6 separate regions of the Homo sapiens genome follow, and all the other regions are linked to region 3. Evidence: promoter capture Hi-C in human tissues and cell types (Jung and others, 2019). All regions are on one chromosome and are shown on one strand. The core of a region is centred on a gene start or on the middle of the fragment in contact, and the rest is flanking DNA. Distances in the headings are between cores, read along the strand shown.

Region 1 (2,700 bases), core at 166-2,665, 1.1 Mb after region 3:
CTATCTTCTGGCTTTCCCTTTGAAAGAGTTCAGAACATACAACCCAAAAATGTGCCCCTCTGGCACATTGACTATTTTGAGTCAAAGGCACGTAAAAAAAGGGCAGGTGCAAGAAGAACACTCTTGCAGTCCTTTTTAAAAGCAGGAGATAAAATTTCCAGTTGAAATATATCCTCCCTGTACTAGAAGAAAAGTGTCATTCTTATCATCAAGGATGGGAAGTTGAGGTCACTGGAAATCTGTCCAAACACACCTTGTTAAACTAACTCTTGTCTTTCTTATCACTTCACCCAATTAACTACCCTAGCCCAAGCCCCTTTACCTTGTCACATCTTCATAATCTACTACTCTTTGTCCAATTTAGTATATGTGTTTAACTTTAACTGCATCTTTCAGTCATCATTTTCTTATGAAGCCTCCAATGCCACATACAACTTGAATTAAATACATTTGTATTGTATTTTTTTTCTTGTTGATCTGTCTTGTGTCAATTTAATTATCAGCCACAACTGAAAAACTCTAGGAAGGTAGAGGTAAAATCTTGCCTTCCCTACACCTTGAGGGCTCAATGCAGAGGTTGTCAAACATTTTTTTTTTCTCTCCAGACATGAGATACATGATGCTCACATGTTCAGTTTGCTCCCATGGAATTCCTGGGGCTCAAGCTGTAAACTCACTTTTATCCTACTTAAAAGGTACAGTGGAACATGACTGGCATGGCACAAATATGGGGATGAATCTGAATCCTCTCTGATTTGTATTTTTAAGTAGACTGTTCCTGAACTCTGAGTCCTTTCTAATCGTAACAAATATATAGTAAGCTTGCAGTTGATTTTCATACGGAGAGTAACGCCTATTGATAGTGTTGGTGAATGCCTGTAAAGAGACTACATCACTTTCAGAGTCTGTGTTACACTGTTGCTTCATGATCTGTATCACTGAATGATTAAGTCATTTAAGAACATTCTTCAGATGTTATTGGCACCTCAAGAACCGTCAGAATCAAAGCATTGACTCATAAATTTAATTTAAAAAGAGCAGCTACTATGTTCCAGAAACTGTTCTACTTTCTCATTATAAACAGTAGAATTCACTATTAATAGTAAAGGCTTCCACAGGAGCAGAAAAAAGCATATATCATTTTACAGACATACAGTTGAGCTTAACAAAGTCAATTTGTACTCTCTCTGAAACAAAATCACATAAATTTTGACGTTTTTAATAGAGCATCATGCAAAGGGAATAAACAAACATAGGCTATGCAATAGTGTTAATAGAAATAAAAGGCAGTACACATTTAGCCAAAAGATATAAACAAAAAGGACTTAGATCTTTTATTATTATTGACCTCAATAGTAATGTTAGTTATTATGGTCCATAGCAGCTGCAGTTTTTAGATTCTAGCATAGTGCCAGTAACTTAAAAAAAAATTCTGTCATTAATTCCAACAGCACATTTCTTTTTTCACTTTTTATTTTATAGATTTAGGGGGTACAAGTGCACTGTTGTTACATGAATATACTGTGTAATGGTGAAGACTAGGCTTTTAGTGTAACCGTCACTCTAACAGTGTACATATACTGTACCCTTCAGGTAGTTTCTCACCCCTTGCCTCCTTCCACCTTTCTGAGTCTTCAATGAATTATTCTACTCTCTATGTCCATGTGTACTCATTTTTTAGCTACCACTAAAATGAGAACATGCAGTATTTGTCTTTCTGTGACTGAGTTATTTCACTTAAAATAATGGTCTCTAGTTCCATCTATATTGCTGCAAAACACATGATTTCATTCTTTTTTGTGGCTGAGTAGTATTCCACCTACCATCTTTTCTTTATCCAGTTCTCCACTGATGGACACTTAGGTTGACTCCATATTGTTACTATTGTGAATTTGTATTGTATTTTTTTTCTTGTTATAGATAGCACTGTGATAAATGCAGGAATAGAGGTTTTTAAAAAAATAATAATTTCTTTTCCTTTGAGGAGATACTGAGCAGTGAGATTGTTGGATGGAATGGTAGTTCTATCTTTAGTTCTTTGAGAAATCTCCGTACTGTTTTCTGTAGAGGTTGTACTAATTTACATTCCCACCAATAGTCCACAACACATTTCTGTATGGTGGGCATTATCTTCCTTTTACAATTGAAAAATACAGACCAGAAAGAGTAAAACAGCTTGGTTGAATTTACACAGAAATCCCTTGGCAGAGAAAGTTGCCATACCCAGACCACTTTCTATAGCTAGAAAGCCTAATTTAGAGTAAAATGTACATTTATATTTGTCAATTCATTTTTTTCAATCAAATTCTCTGAACACTGCTAAGCAAAATATGGCATAAGCAGTACTGTGCTGGTAAATGTTTAAAGACTGGCTGTCAAAAAAGGGGTACATATTATATAAGCTTCTTTTAAATTGTACTGACATAAAGAACATGTAGCACACAATTTACATATAATAATAAATAATATATGTAATACTCTTTATTATACATTCTAAATAGTTTTTTGATTTTCACAGAATGCTTTTGTTGAATTTTACCTAAAATGTGTATCAATAGCCAGTCTGTGGTTTTAACTGTCCCACAATATGGGTCATGAATGTTAATTGATGTTTTCAGATTTTAAGCAACTGATGTGACATCAGGTACCATGGAGCTGGAAAGAGAGACTTGTGTAGTATTTTACCATACACATACGACA
Region 2 (2,700 bases), core at 51-2,550, 1.1 Mb after region 3:
AAAGACTTGCTTCATTGTAGTGTCTTTGCTTCTTTGTTAAAGATTAGTTGACTATATTTACGAGGGTCTATTTATGGACTCTGTATTGTTTTCCATTGATCTATTTCTCCATCCTTTTGCCAATACCACACTGTCTTGATTACTGAAGCTTTATGGTAAGTCTTGAAGTCAGGTAATATCAGTCCTCTGACTGTTTTCCAATATTGTGTTGGCTATTCTGGGGCTTTTATCTCTCCACATAAACTTTAGAATCAGTTTGTTTATATCCACAAAATAACTTGCTGGAATCTGGGTTGGGATTGCATTGAAAATATAGATTCTTCTTTCCAACTGAAAAGTTGGGAAGAACTGACATCTTGACAATATTGAGTATTTCTATCCATGCACATAGACTATCTCTTCATTTATTTAGTTCTCCTTTGATTTTTTTTTTATCAGTTTTGGAGTTGTCCTCATATAGATCTTTTACATATTTTGTTAGATTTACACCTAAGTATTTCATTTTCAGGTAGCTAATATAGACGGTATTTTGTTTTTAATTTCAAAATCTACTAGTTTATTGTTGGTACATAGGAGAATGTTTGACTTTTGTATATTAACCTTCTATCTTGCAATCTTGCTATAATTGCTTATTTTCTCCAGGATTTTTGGGTCAAACCTGGATTTCCTACATAGACAATCATGTCATCTATGGATAAAGACAATTTTACTTCTTTCTTTCCCATCATTATGCCTTTTATTTTATTTTATTTTATTTTATTTTATTTTATTTTATTTTTCTTGTCTTGCTGCTTTATCTAGGACCTCCATTGTGATGCTGTTAAGTTCCTGGTCTGATAATTTCAATATTCCTTCCATATCTGATTCTGATGCTTGATCTGTCTCTTCAAACTTTTGCTTTTTTCTTTTAGTAAGTCTTGTAAGTTTTTCTTGACAGCCAAACATAATGTACTACGTAGAAGAAAAAAAAGAACGACAATAAATAAGCCTTTAGTCATGTGGTGGTTAGATGTCAGGGGAGGGGAAGTATTATATAGTTATGTGATTAGATCTCAGTCTCTTGGCAACCCTGTACCTCTGAACTGTGAACATCTCAAGTGTTTCTTAGGTCCTCCACCTCTTTTAGGTGGGGCAAGAGGGCTAGAGTAAACTGGAATTAGGCATTTCCTTTCTTCTATCTGGAAGGCTAGAGTGGGCTAGAGTTGAGTATTTCCCTTTCCCCAGGTTGGTTAGGATCTGATAGAACCCCAATAGTTTAGGCTCAGGTGAAATATTTTCTCTTGAAGGCAGGCCTTATTATGACACACAGAATGCTGTGGCATGTTTCAAGATGTTTCTTCTTTTTTCCCTTCCCACTTCTGGAAGCATGAGGGGATTTTTCTCTAATATTCATTGTGAGAACCTGGTCCAGCTCCTGGAGGTAAAAACTCACAAAAGCATGATAGCCCTGGATGAATGGATCCCCTTGGAGTTTCCATCATTCAGACTGGTCCACATGGAGCCTCTAGTAATCCGTCAGTTAGAGTTTAGGCTTTTCTACTCCAGTACTCGTTCCTGCGGAGGCTTCTGCTAAGGGATTTCTGCTCAGATAAGTTGTGATTCTCTGTACCCACCTGTCTGTCTCTCCAGTTTTGGGGACAGCAGTTTGCTCTGTGACCTCACTTCTTCGAAGGATCTAAAGAAAGTTGTTGCTTTCTTTTAGTTGGTTTAGCTGTTCACGTGTTGGCACATGTGTTAGGACAGAGTGACATCTTCCAAACTCCTTGCATGTTGAACCGCCTATATATTGTTATTCTCACTATCTAGGATGTCTAGGAAAGTAAGAAAAAGATCATGTGCTGGCTCTCATTTTGTCATCCTCCTGACTCTTCATTTTCTTTGAGCCTAGGGACAAAAATGAAGGCCTGTTACTTTGTAAGAAGAAAAATGTCACATGTTCATAAGTGAAATACTGAGCAAACATCGACTCGATTTTTCCCTGAGGAATTGCTTCAATCTACACAAAAGCTCCACCTTCCCAAAGAGGTCCATCAAAGTAAATCTCTAACATTTGTGTTTAAATGGATAGTTATTTCTACTATGAGCACATCCTGAACTTCTTTTCCTGCCCCAGCAGGTTTTCCTGGCACATTACAACTCCAGGCTATCTTGTATCTGCTTACTACAGCTCAAGCAGGAGAACAGATTGATTTTTGATGAGAAATATGCCTTTTCTGGGGTTTCCTTATTCTACCACAAACTTGGTCCAGAGCTCATTGTTTGTGAAATACTGTCATTCATTATTAAGACGAACAATGATGCCTGCTGTGGGAAATGTGCATTTTAAAATGCAGTTTTCCTCCTTTAAAATTCTGTGGCTTATTTGGTCTCTTCATTCTCCTGTCATTCGTCAAACACTTGCTATACCCCAAGTGCCTTGCTGTGGTTAAGAGGAATGAGCCAGGTTCTGTCTGTTTGAGGGAAATGGTACATGCATCACTTCCAATTACATTTCTCTAGGCATTTTCAGGAGCAGTAACTTATGTATGGGTAAAACTTAGAAATCCAAAACCAGCCAAGGGGATGTTTTAGGTAGAATAGTAAAAGATCTTGTATGCAATTATTGCATGAATCGCAGTCGATTACTCAGGTCATTCTAAATTCATTTTAGATGATTTAAAGAAACGTATCCATATTACTAGGATGTGGTGAAATCCACTG
Region 3 (2,700 bases), core at 77-2,576:
TTATTAAAACCATTAGAGATTTTGGACTAAAAATTGAAAAAAAAATCAATTTTTTTTCTTTTAAATTCTAAATAAAATAATAAAAACAAACCCCCCAGATGTTGAGAAGACATGGATGGGCCTGTTGCACTCTTTACCTATATGCAACCATTTTGTTTCAGACCTAATTCAGTGAACAAAATTTTTTGAGAAGATACATTTAACTACTTTTTCAAGCTTTGTAGTATAAATGCATTTCTTCCAATATAAGATTTTCCTATTATAAGTTGCAAAGAATGGATCCTCTGCAAAACCCACTTGATAAGGGCTCTACTCATTTATTTTTCTTTCCTGCTACCCCAAACTCACTGCATACATCAGGCATAGCTTCCAGGGTGAGCTTTGTTAGTTTTTCTGAGTAGACTTAGCCATTTACTATGCTAGTCACATACTTCACTTGCCTAAGCAATGGATTTTGGTGTTCTATTGAAGAGGGAATATGGTTTGGAAGAGTGTCTCCCCCTCCTCTGAGTTCAATTTACTAGTTGAGATTTGCAAGCCTGAAATGCTTGAAGCAGCTCAGGCACGATAGCAGTGCAAGCTTTAAAATCTAGGTGTAGCTGTTAATCCTTTACAGAGGCACATAAGTCTCCAGGAGTAGCTCGGCTAGCTGTGAGCAAGATGTATGCTTTTCATGTACTGCGTACTCATGGGCTGAGGGATTATTGATTTTCTTTCACAGTTGTAAAAACAGCAATTGGTGATCATCCCACACGTACAGTACACACCAAGTTGCTTTCCTATCTGTGAAGAATCTCCTTGTATTCTTTAATATTTAACATTGAACTTTCCAACTTGCTGTTTTCCATAAGGCTCTTTTCACATAGCAATTACTCAAGACAGAAAATAGCCACTTACTATCTTTTATAAATGAAAGAAGGTTCTAAGAAACTTCTTACATTCAGCCATGATAGTGAAATTTTTCATTGCTGGCTTGCACGCACATATATTGCTTGTTGTGGTGACAGAGCAAACGTTCCTATTTGGATTTCTCATAGTATCAAGTCGTTTCTTTCTAGAGAGTAAAACCAAGCAAACTTTCTGGGACAATCATAAGAAAAAACATGGAAAACACTTACCAGGAAGACGAGAAAAAGCAATCCTATATACACTGCCGCTATAGCTGTAATTCCATTGACAGTGAATTGGAGTAATAGCCCTCCCCCGTCTCCCAAGCTCTGCGTCCAGTCCACACAAAGCCCACGGCAGCTGCAGGCTGAGCTTGTCCTGCTTCAGATCACTCCTACACTGAGGAGTGAGCGAGGGAGAGCATTCCAGTTTACTGCACACAGCCCACCTCCAAGTCTGAAGTTTAAAGCTTCACCTCGCAGTGGCTGAAGAAGGGGGTGATGTCATAGATGGGCAGGACTTAGCCAAGATCTTGTTCAGTGAGGTAACTGGATAATCAGACAGATGAGCTTTGCAAACGCTAGAGGGGGCGAGAGCAGCCAAAATGAAGCATCAGCCTGCCAAAGCTAGGATGCCATTTGGTTTGTAGGCAGCCCTTTGGAATCTCAACATTTTCTAAAGTTTACTACAAGGCAGTGGTAGCATACTTATGTATTTTTTTTAAAAAGCATGTTAGAAAGATATTTTTAAGATCACAATAGAAAAAGACAGGCTTTGTCTTATTTTTAAACCATCTGTATTGAAAAGAAGTTAACCAAAATCAAATTAGTTTTATTATTCACTAGCTAAAATAATGTTATAATTGTGGAAGATGTATGCCAGTAATCCCAACTGTGAATGTTTATTCAACATATGAATAAACAGCAGATTCAAATATATACATCAGGGCTGGGTGTGGTGGCTCACGCCTCTAATTCCGGCACTTTGGGAGGCCGAGGTGGGAGGATCACCTGAGGTCAGGAGTTCGAGACCAGCCTGACCAACATGTAGAAAAAATTAGCTGGGCGCCCGTAATCCCAGCTGTTTGGGAGGCTGAGGCAGGAGAATCACTTGAACCCGGGAGGCAGAGGTTGCAGTGAGCCAAGATTGCACCATTGCACTCCAGCCTGGGCAACAAGAACGAAACTCCATCTCCAATATATGTATATATATACACGTGTCACTGATTCATTTAGTTATGGGAAGGGCAATAGGAATGCCAAAAGATTTTTTTAAATGGTATTAAATGGTCTGTTCTTTTGGAGGCGAAGAAGTTACTGTTCTCTATGTTTTAGAAAATGAAAGTATGTTTTATGTACTTCTGCTACGTGTTTATATTATTTAAAATGGATTATTTATATTTAACGATCCCCCAATAAAATGTTTTTAAAAAATTTAATAGAATATTTTCCTTTCTAAATGTTTTTGCTGATCTGAGCATGGGTTTAGATATAAACATCTTAAGAAAAAAATCTTTCAGGGTGGTTTGCCTGGATTGAAATTATTTTAGTTTAATTTAGGTACATGAATAAACACTGGACAATTGTAAGACGTGGAGATTATAAATTTCTATGCCTAATTAACAGAATTATACTTGTATTTTTAATTATGATTTTTGTAGACTGGTTTCTGCTATTTGGTCAACAATTGCTTTGTGCCCGTAAGTTTTCCATCAAATAAGTGTATTTCACTTGTTCATGTTGGTGGTAAGAACTTAGCTTTTATATTTACCTGGAGGACCGTTGTCTTAAACTAATATCTTTATTTGCTCTA
Region 4 (2,700 bases), core at 3-2,502, 1.4 Mb after region 3:
AATTCTATTACCATTTAGTTTTACTTGCCTTATTGCACTTATTTCCAGTGAAACAGTAAAGACTGAGTTTGGCATGGTTGTTTGGTTTCCAGTAAAAAAAAAAAAAAAAAAAAGAAACGGTGAAACTTTCATCATTTTATAATTTTCAAAATTAGGGATGATATTTGCTCTGTAAGCTTAGTAGAAAACATTTATTTCAGGCTAGGTTCCTTCTCTTCATAGTCTGCTGAGGGTTTCTGACATCGTTTGCTGAATTGTATTAAATACATTTTCTGGATCTATTGAGGTTGTGTTTTTTTCTCCTAATGTGCTAATGAACTTGTGAAGAGCTGAGCCAGACTGAGAGCTGAGCTGCCAGGGGTTCGAGTGGCCATGAAGAAAATAAGCCAAAATGAAAGTAACAGTCAAGATTTTCGTCAATAGTGCAATACTATAAGCAAGATGCTCAACTGGGGAAAGCACTGACTTCCCTAGTGTTCCATTGTTCATTTGGAATGGCACCATCCATGGTCAGATAGATCAGCATAGACATGATGAATCTCCTTATTGCTAAGAAAGTTCTAAACAAAAAGCTCCTTCTGTTTTATGGACCATAAACAGGAGAATGGGAAGGTTAGTAATGGAAGGTATTGAGTACTGAGTCAGAGTGAAAAAAGAGTATCCTCAAAGTTCCTCCCTCTACCATAATAAGGAGGTCTCAGCACCTGAGAAAAATGTCTTCTGAAGACCCCCAAATAGGAGGCCTCTGAATGTAGGTACCAGGACTAAGAATGCAGACATGAGTAAGAACATGGCCAGCTGATGGCACCTGAGTCCCTGACTGCAATACTCTTCAAAGACTGCAGTGCATTGGCTGTGCACCAAAGTAGGTGTGGGGAAGGTGGTTTTCCCTGCTGAGGCCTCTCAGGTAAACGTTTGGTAATCACCTATGGTCAGGCTTGAAGGATCACACATAGGTTTTCAGGCAGTATCGAGAGTCCTTAGTGATGAATGAAGATGACTGTGTTTAATGCCAAACTAAATTTGAATTCCTGGATGAACCCAGTAGTAACATGATACAATTGATGTTTTTAAATAGTATTGTTATGTTTATTTTAATGTGTCAGTAATATTTTGTTTAGGGCTCTTGTATTATTGCTTGTTGATGGAAAATCAATGGACTTTTGTATATTAAATTTGTATCCCGCATCTTTGCTACAATTGCTTATTATTTCCAGAATTTTTTTTTGTCAATTCTCAGATTTTCCACGGAGATGATCATAGCATGTATGAGCAAAGACAGCTTTATTTCTTCCTTTCCAATTTGTATACCCTTATTTCCTTTTCTTGTCTTATTACATTAACTAGTACTTCTAGTACAGTGTTGAAAAAGAGTGGTGAGAGGGGCCATCTTTGCCTTCTTGACATTAGCAGAAAAGCTTTGAGTAGATAATACAATTTTGTTTCTTTTTTCTAGTTTTCTTTTTAAATTCTGCTATCCTGTTTTATAGGGTTTTGTCCTCTGCAGATATTTTTAAGTTTTTCATTTATTCTTATAAACAGGGTAAGCATAGCTCTTTTAAAATGTGTTCTACAAATCCCAGTGTCTGAAGTGTGTGCAGATCTCTTTCTGCTGTCTGCCATGCTAGTTCTGGCCATGTTATTTCCTTTCTTAATGCATCTGCTTATATATGACTGCTTCTTGGCCATTGCCCTTAAAAATAACTTGGGAAGATTCCTTGAGGTCTAAAATATACCTCCTACAAAGAATGGGGCACTGTCAGTCTGGGACTACTTCAGTCAAATTTGGTGACTTAAATTCCATCACCAGTCCAGGCTCTGAGTTCAAATACATGAAAGAGCCAATCAATGTCCACAATCGCTCAAGAAATTTTCCTCTTTCCTTCCTTCCTTCCTTCCTCCCTTCCTTCTTTCCTTTCTTTCTTTCTTTCTCTTTATTTTTTTTTCTGTCCTGCCCACTCATCACCACAGAAAACTTCTCTATTATCCCCTCGGATTTGGGGCTTGTGGTGGAATATAGGTTATAATTAGTTCAGCCTTCTTTCAAAATGTAGCGTTCTGAAGCTTCAAAAGGAAGTGTTTCTTATAAGACTCCCACCTTGGGTAGGCCATGGACATTGACTTCTGTTCCTCTCACCACCTATAGCTCTGAATTGAAACCCATGTGTGCAGTATTGACCAGTGACTTCAGGACATAAGTATCTTTGTTACCTTAATATTCCACTTGTGTCTAGTTACAGGCTTCCACTCAAGTGTATTCCAACATTGTTCATATTTTATTAAGAAGTCTGATCTGAATAAATTTGCCCACCATTATTCTAAATCAAGACCCAGGAGAAATTTTCTCTAATGATATTTTGACAAACACGTATATACTGTGTGGGGAGGTGGAGGGCTATAGTAAGAAGAGCAGGCTTTAATCTTCGTTCCACCATTTGCCAGCCATGTAACTTTGGACAAGTCAGTGAAGACATTCAAACCTTGGTTTACTCATCTATAATATAAGGAATATAGAATTAGTGACAATAAATACAAAGCATAGCTTTGTATACAAATTATGTATACAAATACATAGCTCTTACCATTATTATTTTCATGTCTCCATGACATTTTTATATGTTCTTGACTTGAACTTTAATTAACTTTTGGATTAATAATTTGTCTGTTTTAACATCTTGCTTTCTTAAGGACAATGGAATA
Region 5 (2,700 bases), core at 27-2,526, 1.0 Mb after region 3:
CAGAATAGCTGTACCTGTTTACATTCTCCTCAGCATTGTATGAAGGTTCAGGGTTTTTGGCATCCAACAGTGGTACTGTATATTCAGACTTTAATTTTTACAGTTGAATGGGTATAAAAGAGCATCTCACTGCTGCTTTCAAGTGCATTTCCCTTATTTCTAGTAAGATATCTTCTCACTTAATGTCCATTGGGTTTCTTTCTGTGAATTGCCTTTGTGTTCATTGCTCATTTTTTTCCCTAGTAGGTTAACATCTTTTTCTAGATGCCATGTAGGAGTTCCTTACATATTTGGTATAATAATTATGTGTTGCCAAAATACATTTATTCCCAGTCTGGAGCTGCTCTTTTAACTTTGTCCATGGAGACAGATTTTAAAATTATGTTTTAAATTTTATTGTGGAAAAAATGTGCAGATCTTCTTCTTTATGGTTTCTGCCATTCATGTCTTCACAAATCCCTCCCAGGCTGGATGCGATAATGCATGTCTGTAATCCCAGTCCTTTGGGAGGTGAAGGTGGGAGAATTACTTGAGGCCAGGAGTCAGAGAACAGCCTGGGCAACAAAGCATGACCCCATCTCTACAAAAAATTAAAAAATTAGCCATATGTGGTGATGCATGCCTATAGTCCCAATTGCTTGGGAGGTTGGGGCAGAAGGATTGCTTGAGACCCAGAGATTGAGGCTGCAGTGAGCTGTGATCATGTGATCACACCACTGCACTCCAGCCTGGGCCACAGGAGAAAACCCTAAAAAAAAATCCTTTTCTATAACAATTTTATAAAATTATCCTGTCAATCCTATACCTTCTTTTAAAAAGGTTAAAATGTTTCTATACCTACTTAGGCTATCAACCTCACCTGGCCAGAATTCTGTGATAGGCCATGTTTCTATAAATGTACAACGCTATTTCTGTGACCTCTTTTTGTTGCATTGATTTAACTCTACTCCAGATTTAAATTTTCAGTGACTGTAGTTTTATAACCTTGATGTCTGGAAGGGCAAAACCCCATATATCTTATTTATTATCTTCAAAACTGATTTAAATATTCTTGAGATTTTCTCTTCTAGGTGAATTATAGAATTATTTTCCTTTTTTGTTTTTTCTTTTCCTTTTTAGAGACAGGGTGCTGTTCTCTCACCCAGGCTGAAAGGCAGTGGCACCATCATAGCTCACTGCATCCTGGAACTCCTGGGCTCCAGCAATCTGCCAGCCTCAGCTTCCCAAGTAGCTTGGACTACAGGCATGTCACTGCACTTAGTTAGTATTTTTATTTTTAGTAGCAATGGGGTCTCACTTTGTTGCCCAGGATGGTCTCAGACTCCTGGCTTCAAGTGATCCTCCTACCTTGGCCTCTCAAAGTGCTGAGATTACAGACATGAGCCACTGCACCCAGCTTTTTTTGGGCACTTTTCAAGAAGAAACTTTCTGGATTTTTATTGAAATGTCATTGAATTTATAGATTAATTTTATGATAATTGTTACTTTTTGAACTTGAGTCCTCCAATCCACAAACATTGTATATTTATGTGTATTTTGACATTTTTTGTAAATATTTGCAGTACTTTTCCTTGTACCTTTTGACATTTTCATCTTTTACATGCATGTGTTGTAACTTCATTTTGCCACGTCTGAATTTTTTCATTTGTCTTATTTTGATGTTCATTCTTTTGTTGATTTGTTTATTGTTTGTTTGTTTTCCCTCTAATATGAGAATTCATGTCTTTTGTCAACTCTGGAAAATGCTCAGTCATTGTTGCCTTTATCTCATTCTCTATTCTCATTATTTTTGAAACTCATGGAAGACTCTTGATATGCATAAAATCTTGCAAAAGCTTCAGAGGGAAATATATGTATAATTTCTATATATATATGCACACATTATATATAGATATACGCACATACACACATATAAGTGATTTTATCATATATATAATCACATATGATTATAATACAATCCCTTATATATAATCACATATATACACATATATGTATATATACATATGTAATTACACTTACATACATATATAATCACTTATATGATTACGTATATCACTGATATGTATATATAATCACTTATATGTGTGTATGTGTATATATAGTCTTATGGTCGCCAAATTCTCTTTTCTATTTTTCAACTACACCAAGCCCACTTTCGACCACAATAATGCTATTTATATCTTTACATGTTTACCTTCCACATAAGATTCATTTGAAGAAGAGAACACAGCTTTCCTTGGTGCCAGCTTTCCCTGAGTCTATGTATTTTTTTGTTATACAGTTGTGTTTTAAGATTGTACAGACAGTTGATATAACTGATCTTTGGAAACTCTATTCTGAAAGAATAGAGTGCCACTATTCCTGAGCAAGAAAGAGATGTTTTCAATTTCATTTCCTGAACCTTCCCACTCTCCCGTTACACTTAACTTAAACAAATGTACGTACATCATTGCATTTATAACTATCAGAGATACAAGTCAGAGAACTGGCCAGGATGTTCATTAATCATGTTTGCTGGTAGTAATAAAGGGAAAATCCTTAAAAGCTATGTTGTTTGCCTTGTGGGTGTTAGTCACATAAAATTCATGGCTTTGCCCTAAACTAGTGCGCAGTAAAGACCAGACAATTGCTTATCATGAGGATGGATTGCTTTGGCATTAGTGCTTCCTGACTTAAAAGAGGGGCTTATTTGTTCAGAAA
Region 6 (2,700 bases), core at 23-2,522, 1.4 Mb after region 3:
ACATCTATTATATCTCAGGACTCTTAGCTTGGAGTTCTCTCCATGCGGGGTCTCTATCCTCAACTGGCTGGCCCAGGCTTGTTTTCATGGTGGCAGAAGGGATCCACCTAGCCAGAGGGCGAGCCCCCTTGCACAACACTTTTCATGTCTCTGATCGTGTAAGATTTGCTATCGTCCCACTGACCAAAGCCAATTACGTGTTCAAGCTCAGATTCAAGGAAGGAGCTCTCACTTCTCAGGGCAGTGCTGCCAAGAGTTTATGTACACTTCAGCAATCTATCGATACCACAAATATGAGAGGCCAGCTTTTTCTCTTTTAAAAAAATAAAGCTTATAAAATAACACAAGTACATAATTTCCCTACACAATGAGTAACTAGATTTTATGTTTTCTCTTTCGGTTTTCCTCAAAAACTTGTATAGATCATCTTTTGAGATGAATAGCGGAGCCCTTGTGATACACCACATTCTAAGAATGCTGGGGACACTGTATTCAACCCAGGACAGCTGCCTAAGGTTGTATAGTCTGTGCACCGCATGATGCAGGAGATGCTATTCATGCCATATTCCTAAAATTTTGTATATTTATTGCAATAATTTCCTGGCAAACAATAGTTACATTTCTAGAGAGAAGGACTGCTTTTTCTGATTCTTACAAAAATGACTTGTTGATTTGCAACTCATGCTGACAAGCCATCCTTTCTTAAATGAAGAAAGACTTGTTTAACCAATGGCAAAGAATTCTCCACCTTGTATTGATTATCTTTAGCCCCTCATTTCTTCTGCCTTGAAGTGCATGATTTTTCCTGTTTTCTAGAGTATGAAGTCACTTTAGTCTTAAGTCTTATAGATTGTGTTAGATCACATTCATGTTTACAAGCCAAATATTTCACAATTTTCAAGTACCTTGTATTCATTGTTAATTTTCCAAGTCTGAAATTGTTTCTCTCTGGACTCATTTTTATTTCAAGTTCTACTCTAAATGATTTTTCTTTTTCTGTTTCACTACATAAAGTTCTTTCTTCCTCTCAGGGGATCTCTGCTAATCCCTTTAACCACCGATTGCCAAAGACATTCACAACCCCTGTGTTGGCTTATTTCTTTGTTAAGTAAAATTTTTTCATCCTTTGAAATTGAAAACCTGAAACATTTTTTCTTAAGTCTATGACCAACCATTATTTATAAAGCTGTATCATATCTTAGAATTAGCATATTAGCATCAGTTGCAAAAAAAAAATAGGCAATAGAGAAAATAAAAGATATATGTATATAGCATGAAAGTTACTGCAAAAAGAAAATGAGGCTGTGTGTGTGTTTGTGTGTATGTGTCTGTGTGTGTGTGTGTGTGTGTAGTCGTGCATCGCTTAACAATGGGGAAATGTTCTGAGAAATGTCTTGTTATGCAGTTTCATCATTGCACAAACATCATAGACTGTGCTTATACCAACCTAAATGTTATAGCCTATTACACCCCTAGGCCATACAGTATAACCTATTGCTCCTAGGCTACAAACCTATACAACATGTTACTGTACTGAATACAGTAGGCAACTGTAGTGCAATGATATTTGTGTGTCTAAACATAGCTCAACATAGAAAAGATACTGTAAAAATATGATATAAAAAGATAAAAATGGTCCACTTGTATAGGGCACTTACCATGAATGGAGCTTGCAGGACTGGAAGTTGCTCTGGGTGAGTCAGTGAGTGAGTGGTGAGTGAATGTGAAGTCCTCAAACATTACCGCACACTGCTGTAGACTTCAGAAACACTGTACACTTAGGCTACACTAAATTTACAAAAAATATTTTTCTTTCTTCAATAATAAATTATTTACTGTAACACATTTTACTTTATGATTTTTAACTTAATTTTAACTTTTTGACTATTTTGTAATCATACAATTTAAAACACAAACACATTGTACAGCTATACAAAAATATTTTATTTCTTTATATCTTTATTCCGTAAGCTTTTTTCCATTTTTAAATTATTAATTTTCATGTATGTATTTATTTTCACTTTTCAGACTTTTTCGTTAAAAACTAAAACAAAAATACACACGTTACCCTGGGCCTACACAGGGTCAGGATCATCGATGTCACTATCTTCCACCTCCACATCTTGTCTCACTGGAAGGTCTTCAGGGGTGATATACTCATGGAGCTGTCAGCTCCTGTGATAATGATACCTTCTTCTGGATACCTGAAGGACCTTCCTGAGGCTGTTTTACAATTAACCTTTTTAATTAGTACAGGAGTACACTTTAAAATAATGATAAAAAGTTTAATATAGTAAATGCATAAACCAGTAATGCAATGGTGTTTTGTTTTGTTTTGTGTTTTTTTGTTTTTTTTGAGACGGAGTCTCACTCTCTCACCCAGGCTGGAGTGCAGTGGTGCAATCTCAGCTCACTGCAACTTCCGCCTCCCGGGTTCAAGCGATTCTCCTGCCTCAGCCTCTCGAGTAGCTGGAATTACAGGCGTGCGCCACCACGCCCGGCTAATTTTGTATTTTTAGTACAGACAGGGTTTCTCCATGTTGGTCAGGCTGGTCTCGAACTCCGAACATCAGGTGATCTGCCCACCTCAGCCTCCCAAAGTGCTGGGATTACAGGTGTGAGCCACCACGCCCCACCTAATATAATTATTTATTATTAACTATTATGTATGTATATAATCATGCTAGACTTTTATGTGAC

Evidence for each region. Contacts are between HindIII fragments. The study calls those that stand out against the background at their distance.
Region 1: a fragment that was not itself captured here is called in contact with the fragment with the promoter of FLRT3 in region 3 in 1 of the 25 tissues and cell types used here (dorsolateral prefrontal cortex).
Region 2: a contact is called between a fragment that was not itself captured here and the fragment with the promoter of FLRT3 in region 3, in 1 of the 25 tissues and cell types used here (dorsolateral prefrontal cortex).
Region 4: a contact is called between a fragment that was not itself captured here and the fragment with the promoter of FLRT3 in region 3, in 1 of the 25 tissues and cell types used here (dorsolateral prefrontal cortex).
Region 5: a contact is called between a fragment that was not itself captured here and the fragment with the promoter of FLRT3 in region 3, in 1 of the 25 tissues and cell types used here (dorsolateral prefrontal cortex).
Region 6: a contact is called between a fragment that was not itself captured here and the fragment with the promoter of FLRT3 in region 3, in 1 of the 25 tissues and cell types used here (dorsolateral prefrontal cortex).

The regions. Positions count from the first base shown.
Region 1 is chr20:15,428,314-15,431,013 of GRCh38, forward strand. The region is part of intron 6 of MACROD2 (mono-ADP ribosylhydrolase 2); the gene reads left to right. Among named protein-coding and RNA genes, the nearest start is that of MACROD2-AS1, 500 kb to the left of the region's middle. The HindIII fragment of the contact is 5,462 bases long and covers 1-2,700 here.
Region 2 is chr20:15,483,309-15,486,008 of GRCh38, forward strand. All of the region lies in intron 7 of MACROD2 (mono-ADP ribosylhydrolase 2), which reads left to right. Among named protein-coding and RNA genes, the nearest start is that of MACROD2-AS1, 560 kb to the left of the region's middle. The HindIII fragment of the contact is 3,257 bases long and covers 1-2,700 here.
Region 3 is chr20:14,336,286-14,338,985 of GRCh38, forward strand. It overlaps FLRT3 (fibronectin leucine rich transmembrane protein 3), which reads right to left and starts at 1,327. Exons shown (of 3, transcript NM_198391.3): 1 at 1,119-1,327. The region is part of intron 3 of MACROD2 (mono-ADP ribosylhydrolase 2); the gene reads left to right. The HindIII fragment of the contact is 3,050 bases long and covers 399-2,700 here.
Region 4 is chr20:15,746,470-15,749,169 of GRCh38, forward strand. All of the region lies in intron 8 of MACROD2 (mono-ADP ribosylhydrolase 2), which reads left to right. Among named protein-coding and RNA genes, the nearest start is that of MACROD2-AS1, 820 kb to the left of the region's middle. The HindIII fragment of the contact is 4,219 bases long and covers 1-2,700 here.
Region 5 is chr20:15,372,305-15,375,004 of GRCh38, forward strand. The region is part of intron 6 of MACROD2 (mono-ADP ribosylhydrolase 2); the gene reads left to right. Among named protein-coding and RNA genes, the nearest start is that of MACROD2-AS1, 440 kb to the left of the region's middle. The HindIII fragment of the contact is 7,293 bases long and covers 1-2,700 here.
Region 6 is chr20:15,766,810-15,769,509 of GRCh38, forward strand. The region is part of intron 8 of MACROD2 (mono-ADP ribosylhydrolase 2); the gene reads left to right. Among named protein-coding and RNA genes, the nearest start is that of KIF16B, 810 kb to the right of the region's middle. The HindIII fragment of the contact is 4,341 bases long and covers 1-2,700 here.